3 separate regions of the Homo sapiens genome follow, and all the other regions are linked to region 2. Evidence: promoter capture Hi-C in 16 types of primary human blood cells and fetal thymus (Javierre and others, 2016). All regions are on one chromosome and are shown on one strand. The core of a region is centred on a gene start or on the middle of the fragment in contact, and the rest is flanking DNA. Distances in the headings are between cores, read along the strand shown.

Region 1 (3,941 bases), core at 279-2,778, 5.0 Mb after region 2:
GAAGCTTTAAGGGGAATGTGTGGGCTTCATAGGGTGGTTTGTTTGCTTTCTGATATTGTGACATAGTTTAGGTGTTCGAAGTTAAGTGGATTTATGGATTCTAATATCTATAATTAGAATGTTTATCTTGTTTTGTAAAAGAATGAGCGGTGACCTTGATAATATTTGTAACACAAAATAGTTCTTACAGGTTCGCTTCTCCCCATCACTGCCCCTTTACACCATCCTCTACATGTTATTTAATGAAAAACCACTTGAAAGGGTTACCAAGGATAAGATTTTTAAAGCTTGCTTTCACAAACAACTCATGCTCCAGGCTTGTCAGTGGCATGCTTCCAGGTGGATATTATTTTAAAAAATTGACTACATTTCCCGTCGTCCCTTGGTGTCCGTGGAGAATTGGCTCCAGGACTCCCTCCCTCCCCCCAGTCTCTTTCAGATACCCAAATCCACCCATGCCAAAGTCCTCCAGTCTGCTCTCCGTATCCGTGGTTGGGTCAAATCTATAGATGTGGAACCCGCATATACGGAGAGCCAACTGTAATTTGTCGTTAAGGTAAAGGATAAAAATTTTAAGTGAAAAAGCAATTGTTTTGGAAGGAAATTCTCTAATACAGGATTTTGAAAGGGGATGTAGACGTGTTTGCATTACTGTATGTTTAATGCTGAAAATTATATATTGTACATAAAAGTTGTCCTGTATACTCATAAACTGTAGAAGCTCGATTTTCTACCATGTTTAAAACTTTTTCAAATGAGTTTTGGTGACTTTTTGAACTCATTCAAAATATAATGCAACACCTCCCCATTAGTTTGTTACAGGAACAACTTTTTGACGTGAAGGAAGATAGAAATTTAGCCATAAAATTCCATCCAAAACTTCCACTGAATTGGTAGGTAGTATTGAAAAATGTGCATCATAATTTGATATGGCTGCCTGTGCCCTTGTTATGTTTGTGGGTACGCGTCTTTGCTGTGCATCGCTTTTATCTGTTGCAGCTGTTAACAATTGATGATCAAGAGAAATTGGACCTCAGCTGGTCTTCAAATTGATGTAGCCCAAGATGTTAAGCCAGATTTTTTAAAAATGACAAAACATGTGGTTTCACTATTAGTAATAGTAATACTGAAGAACACTTTGTACCATTGTAAAGAAAATTATAATAATAGCTAAGACTCATGTGGCCCTTACTGCATGCCTCCCATTATGGAAATGTTGTTTTACATATATTCTTACTAGTCTTCATCAACACTTAAAGTAGTTCCTGTAATTATGCCCAATTATAGAGTTGAGGAAACTGATGCATTTTTTTTTTCAATAGAAACTTGTGTTGTTCCCCCTCCAGGAGCTTCTCAAAACAGAAGTCAGGCACAATATTAAATACTTGTTGAATGATCACAGAAGTACAATAGTAGGTTAACATATTTAAAGCTTCTCTCAGCTTATTTTAGACTATTATCTGACAACTTTAATGAGATTTTAATTACCGTAGTATTAGAAAATGGCCCTGGGAATGGAGGTGAAGTGTGATACTGGGAAGTAAGTCATCTGCTGGTAGTGGGATGAGATAAATGAGATCAATGTACTAAATCAAGGAAATTGAAATTATTCAGTGTGCAGAAGCAAGCTTACATTTAGGTTATCTTTACATGGTATCAGACTTTAAGCTGGTACATCATGTTTGAGATATCTGGCTAAATTTTATAACATGGAGCTTTGTCCTCCTTTTGAGGATTTCTAACTTGTTAAGTGGATTAAAAGCATTTCATGTGAGGAATCATTTTAAAAAGTATCAGTGTTTATCCTGAAGAAGAAAAAATGAAGGAGTTAAGAGTTAATGCCATCAAATATTTGAAAAAGTGTCATTTGGAGGTGGAAGAGGACTTTACCTGTGTTGTCCTAAGGGAAGATCTTACACTATACTTGAGAGGCAGTCATTATTAAAGGCATTAAAATGAGACGTGTGCTAATAGAATAACTAGATTGTCGTGGAAGTGAGGGAACAGAGTAATCAAGTAGAAATAAGGACACAGGATAGAAATCAATGCCATAGAAATACACATTTGAGAAACCAAGATGAGGAAAGGCTTCATGGAAGTTGGGAATGAAGCTTGGCCTAAAAATACCAGTAGGCACTTGGGTATATGAGTGTGTGTGTGTGTGTGTGTGTGTGTGTGTGTGTTTGTGTGTGTGTATTTCTTGCTAGAGATACAATTGTAGAAATTGATTGGATTAGCTGGAAACCTTGGGGTATGAACTAGAGTCCTCCATTAGCAGAAAAAAAGCAACTGTGTAAGGGAAAAGTGAACCAGTATTCCCTGGGTGAGTAACTTGAGAGATAATTTCATTTGCACCTCCAGAAAACCTTGACAGGCTTTTATTTCCCTCTTTAAACAGGTCAGGAAGTCGAGGTTTAGGGAGGTTAAATAATCTGCCTAAATTCATAAATTTCATAATTGGTAGAACTGAGATGCAGACCCATATTTGAGCCCAAAGCTCTTTCTTTCTCATCACGTGTAGCATTGAGTGTAGGAAATGAAGGAAAAGGAGACAATGGTGATTCTAAGTTTTTCAGTCTGAGGACCAGAAAACTGGTGGTACCCTGGGTTAACAAGGGGTTCATAATAACTTCAGTGTGACAACCTCAGTTTTAGTTACATTCAGTTTAAGGAGCTTGTGATACATTGGGTAGGAGAGTTCATTATGTCACTGGAAAAGTAGAGCTTGATGTGCACATGTTAACATTTGGAGCTTTGGAAATACAGAGGCCAGAGAAGATGGAGAAGATGACAGGGAATGTACCAACCACTCCTTTCAGAAATCTAGTCTGTGTTTTCTAATGTGGTCAGAGAATTGGAAGTGAGTTTCTAACAGTTTATTTTGACAATTTGAATGGAAAAAAAGTTGACTTTTGTACATCATTTCTTGGAGATGATTATTTTGCTGTTATTGATACTATTGAAGTTGACATAATTTCATGTTTTCTCATTAGTCTTTTCCAGTATTTTGCTCCATATCAACTTTTTTGTGTGTCTTTTACTGTATTGTATACTCTGTTCTGGTTTTGTCTTTTTATTGATAACAAATGCCCCTCCAAACAAATTTTGAAATCAACTTTTTTTTTTTTAAACTGCAGGAGTGAAAGGGAAGCAATGCAGAAATCAGAGGGCTCTGGAGGTACACAGTTGAAAAACAGAGCAACAGGTACAGAGCTTTTGTTTTTAAGTGAAGAGGTCAAGTTTGTTCATGGCACTTTCTGTGCTACAGATGGATGCAGGGTGAACTTTATTGCTTGTACCTGGTTTCTATTGATGTTCTGTTTTTTTCCAGGTAACTATGATCAAAGGACATCATCAAGCACACAGTTAAAACACAGGAATGCAGTTCAGGGAAGCAAATCCTCATTGTCAACCAGTTCTCCAGAGTCTGCAAGAAAACTTCATCCTAGACCAAGTGATAAACTGAACCCTAAAACAATTAATCCGGTAGGTCCAAAACTATTCCTAACTCAGTAGATTTTTTAAAGGCATTTCGCACAGTATTGAACAATGCTGGATGCTGTGTTGAGTTTTGTCCCTTTGCTAGTTTTGAGCTAATAATGAGAGAAGGGCATGTGGTTATTATGATGAAGAACTGAGATAATCAGTCACATGTGGGAGTGAGTATGGAGGTAAGGAGACATAGAAGTTAACCTGTTTGGGATATCGCATTGTAGTGCATAGAAAATTGCACTTTAGCTTTAGATTTTATTTGCAGTGTTGTTTTACTTCCCCATATCAATGAATAAACTGTATTCAGTTGCCACAGAATGCTTTTCGTGCTTCTATAGTTGCATAAAGGTCTCTGACCTTTCCTGTGTTCTGTAAATTAGTTCCACCAGAAATCCTAGTTGTAGTACTAACCTCCTTTGCCCTCTCCTAACAATTTAATGAGATTTAAT
Region 2 (3,785 bases), core at 868-3,367:
GATTTTACTTATCTATCAAAAAATCCCAATTATATTCCTGTTCTTTCCAATCCCCCTAAAAAAAAAAAAGCAGTATGTCTCATTCTCTTCTCTGCTGATAGGAGTGTAAAATGGATCACTCTATGAAGGGCAACTGTAAATATCTATCATATTTGCAAACACATTTCCTCTTGGATCCAGCAATTCTTTTCAGAATCTGACAGTTACCCCTGCAAATGTAGAAATGACATGTATTCACTGAAGAGTTGTTTCTAATATCTGAAGACTGGAAACAACGCCAAGTGTCCACCTACGCGTGATTTACTGTATAAACTGGAGTATATCTACAAAATGGAGTATGTGACAGGAAAAAATAAGTTTAATTGAATACTGATAAGGAGGAATATCCAGAATATACAGTAAAACAGGAAAAAAAAAAACATGAACAATGCAGAAAATATTGAAGGAGAGACCGAGTGAAATAAGACTGTATATTCTCATCTGCTTGTATCTCTGCATGAAGACCGGAAGGATAAACAAGAAACTAATTTAAAATGATTACCCGTGAAGACTATTAGGAATGGTACTGGATAGGGACTAGGGAGGAAGTGTTTCTTGCTGCATTTCTTTTCATGTAGTTTGAGCCATGTAAAAGAAATATTTGCTAATCAAAAAACAGCTTTAAAAATCCAGTGGGAGAGGCTGGGTGCAGTGGCTCACCCCTGTAATCCCAGCACTTTGGGAGGCCCAAGTGGGTGGATCACCTGAGGTCAGGAGTTCGAGACCAGCCTGGCCAAAATGGTGAAACCCCGTCTTTGTATTTTTGAAAAATACAAAAATTAGCCTGGCATGGTGGCGGTCGCCTGTAATCCCAGCTACTCGGGAGGTTGTGGCAGGGGAATCGCTTGAACCAGGAGGCTGAGGTTGCAGTGAGCCGAGGCTGCGCCACTGCACTCCAGCCTGGGCGAGAGAGTGAGACTCCGTCTCAAAAATTAAAAAAAAAAATCCAGTTGGAGAATCAAAAATTTTTAAAAATTTGACTGTGTAATCCTACAAGAAGTAAGTAGCTTGAGAAAGAGAAATGCTGATAAAGTCGCATTAAGTTTCAGAGTTGAAATTCAAGCTCCTGTATCTAACATGTTTCCCTGTTTAAGGTAGAATTTAAAAAAAAACTATATATGACATATATATGTCAACCCAAAAAAATAAAGCAGTATATATTATATATATAAGAATATATATATATTCTCCTTTATATGTTTTTTGTTTCACATATATATATAAATATATATCTCAACCACAAAAAAATTTGGTTTGTGACAAAGATGCACTTATTTGCACGAACCTATCTTGTTAATGATCAAGAAATCTGCTTTGTTACAATCATTAGAGGACAGAAATATACATACATATTTAAATCTATTTAATGAAATGCAGTTTTATGTTAAAAATCAATGATCTGCTAACCTAAAGAGTCGCACAGGAATACTATGATTATTAAACACAATGCGATTCTCTAAATAAGTAAACACGTGCAATGATATCAAAGTTCAAAATTCTCTAATTCTTCCACAAAGACTATGAAAATCACCTTGGAGTGTATGAACCAGCGTCCTGGCCCCGCCAGGTCGGGGCTGGGGCGGGCGCGGGCCGGGAGCGCTTACCCCGCGGCAGGAGCGATTCAGCGCCACTACCTGCTTCGCCTGGTTGTGGTGTGGCTGCTGCGCCAACCGAAAGGCCTCCTTAATCCGCAGCAGTCTCTTTTCGCTCCCATGGCTCTGGGACTCTGTCCGGACTAGCCCTGTCCGCGCTCGGCTACATCCGGCCCGCCCACCAGCTCAGAGGCAGAGTTCTCCGCGGTGTCTCCTAGGGTTTCTTGTCAGAGGGCCCCAGGCGCCTAGGGAGTCGTTACCGCCCTGGCATTCAAATAACTCCCGCGAGAGGCGGAAATCCCGCGAGACTGCCGACAGAGCGTAGGGAAGTGGAAAAGTGGAGCCTGCACCGCCCGCTCCCGGCACCCCCGGACACCGCCCCGGTCTCACGCATGCGCAGAGGGCCGATCCAGTTCTTTTCGGCTGGAATGGGGAATTTGTGAGGTAGGCCGGAAGTGGTGTTGCGGAGGGAAGTGTGGGGAGAGCAGAGGCGCAGCTCTGCTGGAGAGACCTGAGGCTTGCAGCGCTGGGCCCGGCCGGGTCGCTGCGGCTGGGCTGGAGGTGAGGCGAAAGAAGGGCATCCTCTGATGGGAGTGGACCGGAGTCCGCTAAAGCGAAGCATTCCAGGGTTCGTTGCGGGAAATACAGTCTGGTTTTGCCCCCCGTATGAATTGAGGGAAGGTGAGAGCAGAAGCAATCCGGGCCTGAAGGGCGATTATTCTAGGGTCGGCCGAGGGGTTCAGGCCAAAGTTCATTGAAATCCTAGCTGGGTCCCTGGAGGACGAGAAAACCGGTCAGGAGTCTCCTGGGAAGAGGGTCATGTTTTAATCTAGCTAAAGCTGGTACCTGGCAGTTTCCACTCTTAAGGCCTAGTGTACTAACTAATGTGTGCGCAATGTCAAAACAGGAAACAAAGGGAAATGCAAGAGGTGGAAGGTAATTTTAAGTTAGTGGCAGTATGACAGATTTCCAGTGCCTTCAGGAAGGTATCCAGCCTTAAAGATGCTTTTTTTAAATAGACGATTTTAGACAGAAAAAAGGTAGAAACAAAACTATAACACATGTGTACTCACCACTGAATTGGAGAAATAAATGATTATATAAGTGATTGAAGTCCTTTGTCAGCTCTACCCCGTCTCATTCTCTTTCCTTTTGCCTAAGGAAACCACTCTCCTAACCACCTTTATGCAATCTGTAATGTGTACATCTTTTTGCAGCTAGCTTGTTTTACATAATGTTTTTGAGATTTGTCAGTGTTGTGTAACTCCACCTTATTCATCTTAATAGCTGAACAGATATTCTGTTATTTTAATATGTCACTGTTCATTGTTTAGTATCTCCAGTGCCTGACATACTTTAGGCACTGTAGGTAGCTAAATGTTAGTTGAATGCATGGCTGCTGTAGCATTTGAACTAAGTAGAAAAGAATAAATAGGACTTCATGTGACCCAACAAGAGTATTCCAGGCAAAAGGAATACTAGCCAAAAGCAGAGACATGAAAGTGCATGAACTATTTCAAGAATTTCCATACTTTTAGTACTGAAATGTAGAATGTATGGAGATCATGTGATGAAGGAGAAACCTGGAAAGATGAGGCTTAAGCTTAAAGGATATTATCCTGAAGAGCTTACACAAGCTCGGCGCCATTAAATGCTTTTCCAGTTATGAGGAAGCTGATTAGAGCTGTATTTTCAGAAGATGATACAGCGCACTAGAGATATATCTTAGGATATAAAAGATTAGTGACGGGGAATTTTAGACTATCAAGCATTGTAACAATAACAATCATTGCATTAAGCAAGTAAGACAACCAGCCAGACTAAAAATCCAAAAACATTTTCCTAGTCCATCATATTATCACATTCCTTAACAATTATTAATATTTCATATTTTCTTCTGACAAACTTGCAACATTTTCTACTTCGGCCTCTTACTTAGATGATACCTCACATCCTATTGAGTTAAAAAAAAACTTCCCCATGCTTTCATCACCACATCTACCAGACCTGTTCCCTAATATACTGCCACTGCTGTTACTATAGATGAACTGTCTGATTTAGGAGGGAGAGTAAACCCTTTAAAAATATCTTTTTAATACAATAGTAACTGAACTAGTGTTACAAACTTTCAAGGGGGGATTGAAACGTGAATAG
Region 3 (4,223 bases), core at 746-3,245, 5.6 Mb before region 2:
CAGGGTGCTATGACCGTAGACAGAAACGAACTAAGACTCAGTTTCCTCATCAAGAAGGAGCAGACAAGGACCTGGGTGAATCTGAGGCCGGCTTCCGGGGCTCCGAGGTGTGGCTCCCGGTAGAGGGGGCGTGGCGCCCTCACCCTCCCCGGGCCAATGGGCAGGAGGTGAGAAGTGGAGAGGAAGGCGAATTATCCCATCCCAAGGTGGCTCCGGAGCAGAACCGCGCCCGGGGTAGGGGGTACTCACGTCGATGTTCCTTAGGATGACGCACTTTCCATTGGTGTACAGAAAATTGTTGCCCTTAGGGTCGCCGCCGATGATCTTGGAGACGCCCCTCTCCACCTGCGGGAGGCTGGCGAACACCTTCTCTGCGGAGACACAAATGCGGCGGGGCATGTCAGGGCAGGGCGGGGACGGCGGGGACAGAAGGGAGAAGGAGCCCCGGACCGGTCTCGGCCGGTCACCTGTTGACTGCGCCGGGAGGGCGGCCTCCACTTTCCACGAGCGCCAGGAACCGCGCGACTTCCTGGTCCGCGCCCCGGGCCAGGCCCTTGGGGGCAGCGGGGCTCCTCCGGCTCGGCCCACGGCGCCAACTTGGGGGCGCACCCCCCGTCGGGGGTCCCGCCCTGCACCACCGAGGGCGGCCCCGCCACGCCTCCGGCCGGCGCCCGCACCCCTCCCCCGCGCCGAGGACTCCCCCGCCACCCGCACGGCGCCTAGGGGCCGGGGACCGGGGCCGGGGCAGCGCGGCGGCCGCTCGGGGGCCCCGCGCCGCGGCACTTACTGATCTCGTACGGCATCCTCGCCCACTTGTTACCGCGCCGCGCTCGCCGAGAGCCTCCGGGGCCGGCCCGCGCTGCGAATTACACCTCGCCGAGGCCGAGCCCGGGGACTGGAGCCGGAAGGCGGCACCGGGCGTGCCGGGAGTGGAGTGGGCGGTCCGAGGCCGGGGCTCAGAGGCCAGCTCGCGCCTGCCCTGCGCGCTGTGGTTGCGGACGCCCCGAACCCGGAAGCGCGGTCCCGCGCGCGGCTCGCCCCCAGCTTTGACCATATATAGTCAAGCGCTCGGCTCGGCGGCTGCGGTCCCGGCGAGCCTGCGCGGACCTGGCGCTCCCCTCCCCCGCCGGCCCCGGCCCCGCCTCCGCCTTGCTCGCCCCGCCCCGGAAGTGACGTATAGCACGCCCCGCGGGCCCTTGAAAAGGCGGCGCAGACAAGCAGCCGCGTCAGAATGCTTCTGGGAGTCGGGGGGTGGGTGCCTTTCTGTTGCTAGCTTGTAGGAGAAGCTGGGCTGTAGGAAGTTTATTTGCGGGGGGGTCTTAAAGACGCTGAAAGTACTGGCGGGCTTTGGTGGGGGTCTGGAAAAACCTCTCTGTACCTGTGACCGCGTTGCGTGGCGGGCGCTCCCCGGCCTCTCCTTTTTGACCGGTCCCGGGCGTTGCCCAGCCGCCAGTCCTCCTGCTCGGGTTTTGTAAGCAGGAGAGGGATGCTTTTTACGTCTTCTTAAAGTACGGTTAAGTGCCCTTGCTTGAAGTAGTTGCTGGCAACAAGAACGTAGGGGTTACTCTTTGTTGGGCCTGAACTCGTGCTTTTTCTCTCAAAAGTTGAGCTTTTGAAAGGCAAAAAAGGCGTGGGGGATGGGGGAGCTGTCGGTCTTAAGGAAGTTAAAGGTTATTTCCTAAACAAAACAAGTCTCACTCCTAAAACCAGGGTAGTGGCTCAGTTGTGGCGGGAGAGCAGGGGCTGTAAAGTGTCCAAGTTTCTAGTCTCATCTTTCAGTAGGATGGGTACAAGCTTTCCCCTTGGGGCTCTGGGGGCTGGGAGGGTTGTAAAAGTGGGAGAAAGCAAAGTATTTGGCGGGGTGCGGGCGGGTAGCTGAATGTTGTTGTAAGTGGAAGAGGAATGCTGTTGGCGTCTTTCTCTAAGCACGGTTAAGTGCTTTTTCTTGAAGTAGTTACTGGCAACAAGAACGTAAGGGTTACTCTTTGTTAGGCCTGAACTCGTGCTTTTTCTCAAAAGTTTAGCTTTTGAAAGGCAAAAGTGGGGGTGGGGGCGCTGCTGCTTTTAAGGAAGTTAAAGGTTATTTCCTAAGAAAGCAAAACAAGCCCCACTTGTAAAACCCGGGTAGTGGCTCAGCTGGAGAGCAGGCGCTGTGAAGTGTACAAGTTTCTAGTCTCATCTTTCAGTAGAATGGGTACAAGCTTTCCCTCGGGGCTCTGGGGGTGGGAGGGTTGTAAAAGTGGGAGAAAGCAAAGTACGTGGGTGGGGGGTAGCTAAATGTTGTTGTAAGCGGGAGATGGATGCTTTTGGCGTCTTTAAGCACGGTTAACTGCCCTTGAAGTAGTTGCTGGCAACAACGTAGGGGTTACTCTGCTGGGCCTGAACTTGTGCTGTTTCTCTCTCTCAAAAGTTAAGGTTTTTAAAAGGCAAAGGCGTGGGGAGAGGGGTAGGGGAGCTGCTACTTCTAAGGACGTTAAGGGTTACTTCAGAGCAAAACAAGCCCCACTTCTAAAACCAGGGCAGTGGCTCAATTGTGGAAGGGAGAGCAGGGAATGTGAAGTGTCCAAGCTTCTAGTCTCGTCTTTCAGTAGCGTGGGTACAAGTTTTCCATTGGGGCTCTGGGGGCTAGGAGGGTGGTAAAAGTGGGAGAAACCAAAGTACTTGCGGGTAGCTAAAAACTCTGAAACCCACGCTGTGAGCGGTTCCTGCTTCTCTGAAAGGTCTGTTCTGCTTAAGGTTGTATCAAGGTTAGTCTCTTGCTACCTACTTCTGTAGAGCAGTCTCTCGTGGCTCACCTGGGTTAGTGGCCATGTTGCCTGTCTCCTATTCTTCCTAACCTTGTGTGTTCTCCAGGTAGCTGAGTGATCCATCCGAAGTAAAATATTCCTCAGCTTGTCTGTAGGGGCTCCAAGTTTCATGAAGTAAAAGCTAGTCTTGAAAACGGCCCATTAGGGTCCTGGATGACAGTCTCCGGGTCACTTAGACTCCGTTGTCCGCCTCCCCTCATCTGTATCATCTTTGCCTTGGGTACTGGCTTCGGAGGGTGTTTTCCTGAAACTCTTACCTGAGATCTACTTGGCTGACTCCTGTGTCCTTCAGAAGTACTTAATTGCTCAAATGTTAGTTGATGAGTGTCACCGGTCTCATTTTAAATTGCAACTTCAACCCCTTGCAAACACTGCTTCTCATTCCCGCGTTCCCTAACTTTAACTCTCAGGAATAACCCTGACACCTGGAAGATGCTCCTAGGGATGACCCCACTCCCCACCCACAACTGTTAATCAGGAAATAACGGATATGAAAGTAGCTCTGCGAACTGAGGAGCCGTGGAGAATGTACAAAACAGATTCCTAAAGTAAGATACGCAGGCCCGGCTTGTAGGCCGCTGCATCTGCTTTGATAACTTAGAACTCATCAAATCACCTTGAGACCCTTAAAACAAATGGTATAATTGCATTCACAGGTAGTGCATTCGTGTAACAAGATTAAGAAAACGAAGGACCAACTTCAAGCTCTTGCAAGCTGGTAACCTTTACACTCGTGCATAAAGCCTTGCTGGAGTTGACACTGAAAACTAAACAGTCGAACTTGAGTAAAACATATCCAAACTCCCAGCTGCTGGGCTCTACAGCTTATTTTTAGCTTGAAAGTTACATGTTGGAGCTGCAGAGGCTTTATGGTGGTGGTGGGGGAGCTGTTTGTTCGTAGTCACTTGAGTCTATATGAACGTGGCAGGAAATCTGAAGGATGTGAAAGGAAAATGGGAAACACCAGGGTGTTCCAGGATTTTCCCTGTGGGGCGCGAGCTCAGTTTGGTGTTGTCAGCTGTGGGAGCTTTAACACTTGAACCGTCTTTACTGTGGGTCTAGCCTATTCGTTGGGCTCCCCTAGTCACCACTCATGCCTTCGTGTATCCTGTTGTGTTGGGCCCCCACTGAATTAAATAGGGATGGCACCATGTTCGAGAAGCCGAGGCGACCCAGAGCCAATGAACACATATGGTGTATGGAGGGGACTTGAATACAGAGTGGTCCAGAGCAGCCAGCTGGGACAGAACTGCGCTTCAAAAAGCAGTTGATACAGATCAGGTACACCTACACTCCCAAGGTGTGGCTAAGCCGCTATCAGGTGTCAAGCGTGTAAGGGTCACTGCCAGGATATACTTGAGTTGCTTTCAGCTGTCATAACTCTCTAATAGGATGGGGATCCTGAGGTCTGCATAC

Evidence for each region. Contacts are between HindIII fragments. The CHiCAGO score rates a contact against its expected background, and 5 or more counts as called.
Region 1: a contact is called between a fragment that was not itself captured here and the fragment with the promoter of FAM200B in region 2, in 1 of 17 cell types (naive CD8 T cells). The highest score is 5.7, in naive CD8 T cells.
Region 3: a fragment that was not itself captured here is called in contact with the fragment with the promoter of FAM200B in region 2 in 1 of 17 cell types (naive CD8 T cells); the score reaches 6.7 in naive CD8 T cells.

Annotation. Positions count from the first base shown.
Region 1 is chr4:20,701,329-20,705,269 of GRCh38, forward strand. PACRGL (parkin coregulated like) reads left to right here. Exons shown (of 9, transcript NM_001258345.3): 2 at 3,138-3,205; 3 at 3,332-3,486. The coding sequence starts at 3,154. Among named protein-coding and RNA genes, the nearest start is that of PACRGL, 2.8 kb to the left of the region's middle. The HindIII fragment of the contact is 196 bases long and covers 1,431-1,626 here.
Region 2 is chr4:15,679,710-15,683,494 of GRCh38, forward strand. FAM200B (family with sequence similarity 200 member B) reads left to right here and starts at 2,118. Exons shown (of 2, transcript NM_001145191.2): 1 at 2,118-2,192. It also overlaps a transcript of FBXL5 not described here. RefSeq lists enhancers at 1,618-1,917, 2,088-2,327, 2,338-2,387. The HindIII fragment of the contact is 4,207 bases long and covers 1-3,232 here.
Region 3 is chr4:10,115,864-10,120,086 of GRCh38, forward strand. WDR1 (WD repeat domain 1) reads right to left here and starts at 936. Exons shown (of 15, transcript NM_017491.5): 1 at 788-936; 2 at 250-371. The coding sequence starts at 803. LOC124900666 (a long non-coding RNA gene) reads left to right here and starts at 1,226. Exons shown (of 2, transcript XR_007058030.1): 1 at 1,226-3,355; 2 at 3,464-3,614. It also overlaps the pseudogene RNA5SP155. RefSeq lists enhancers at 1-597, 248-397, 2,168-2,267, 2,348-2,437 and silencers at 478-627, 708-1,117, 1,128-1,247. The HindIII fragment of the contact is 407 bases long and covers 1,793-2,199 here.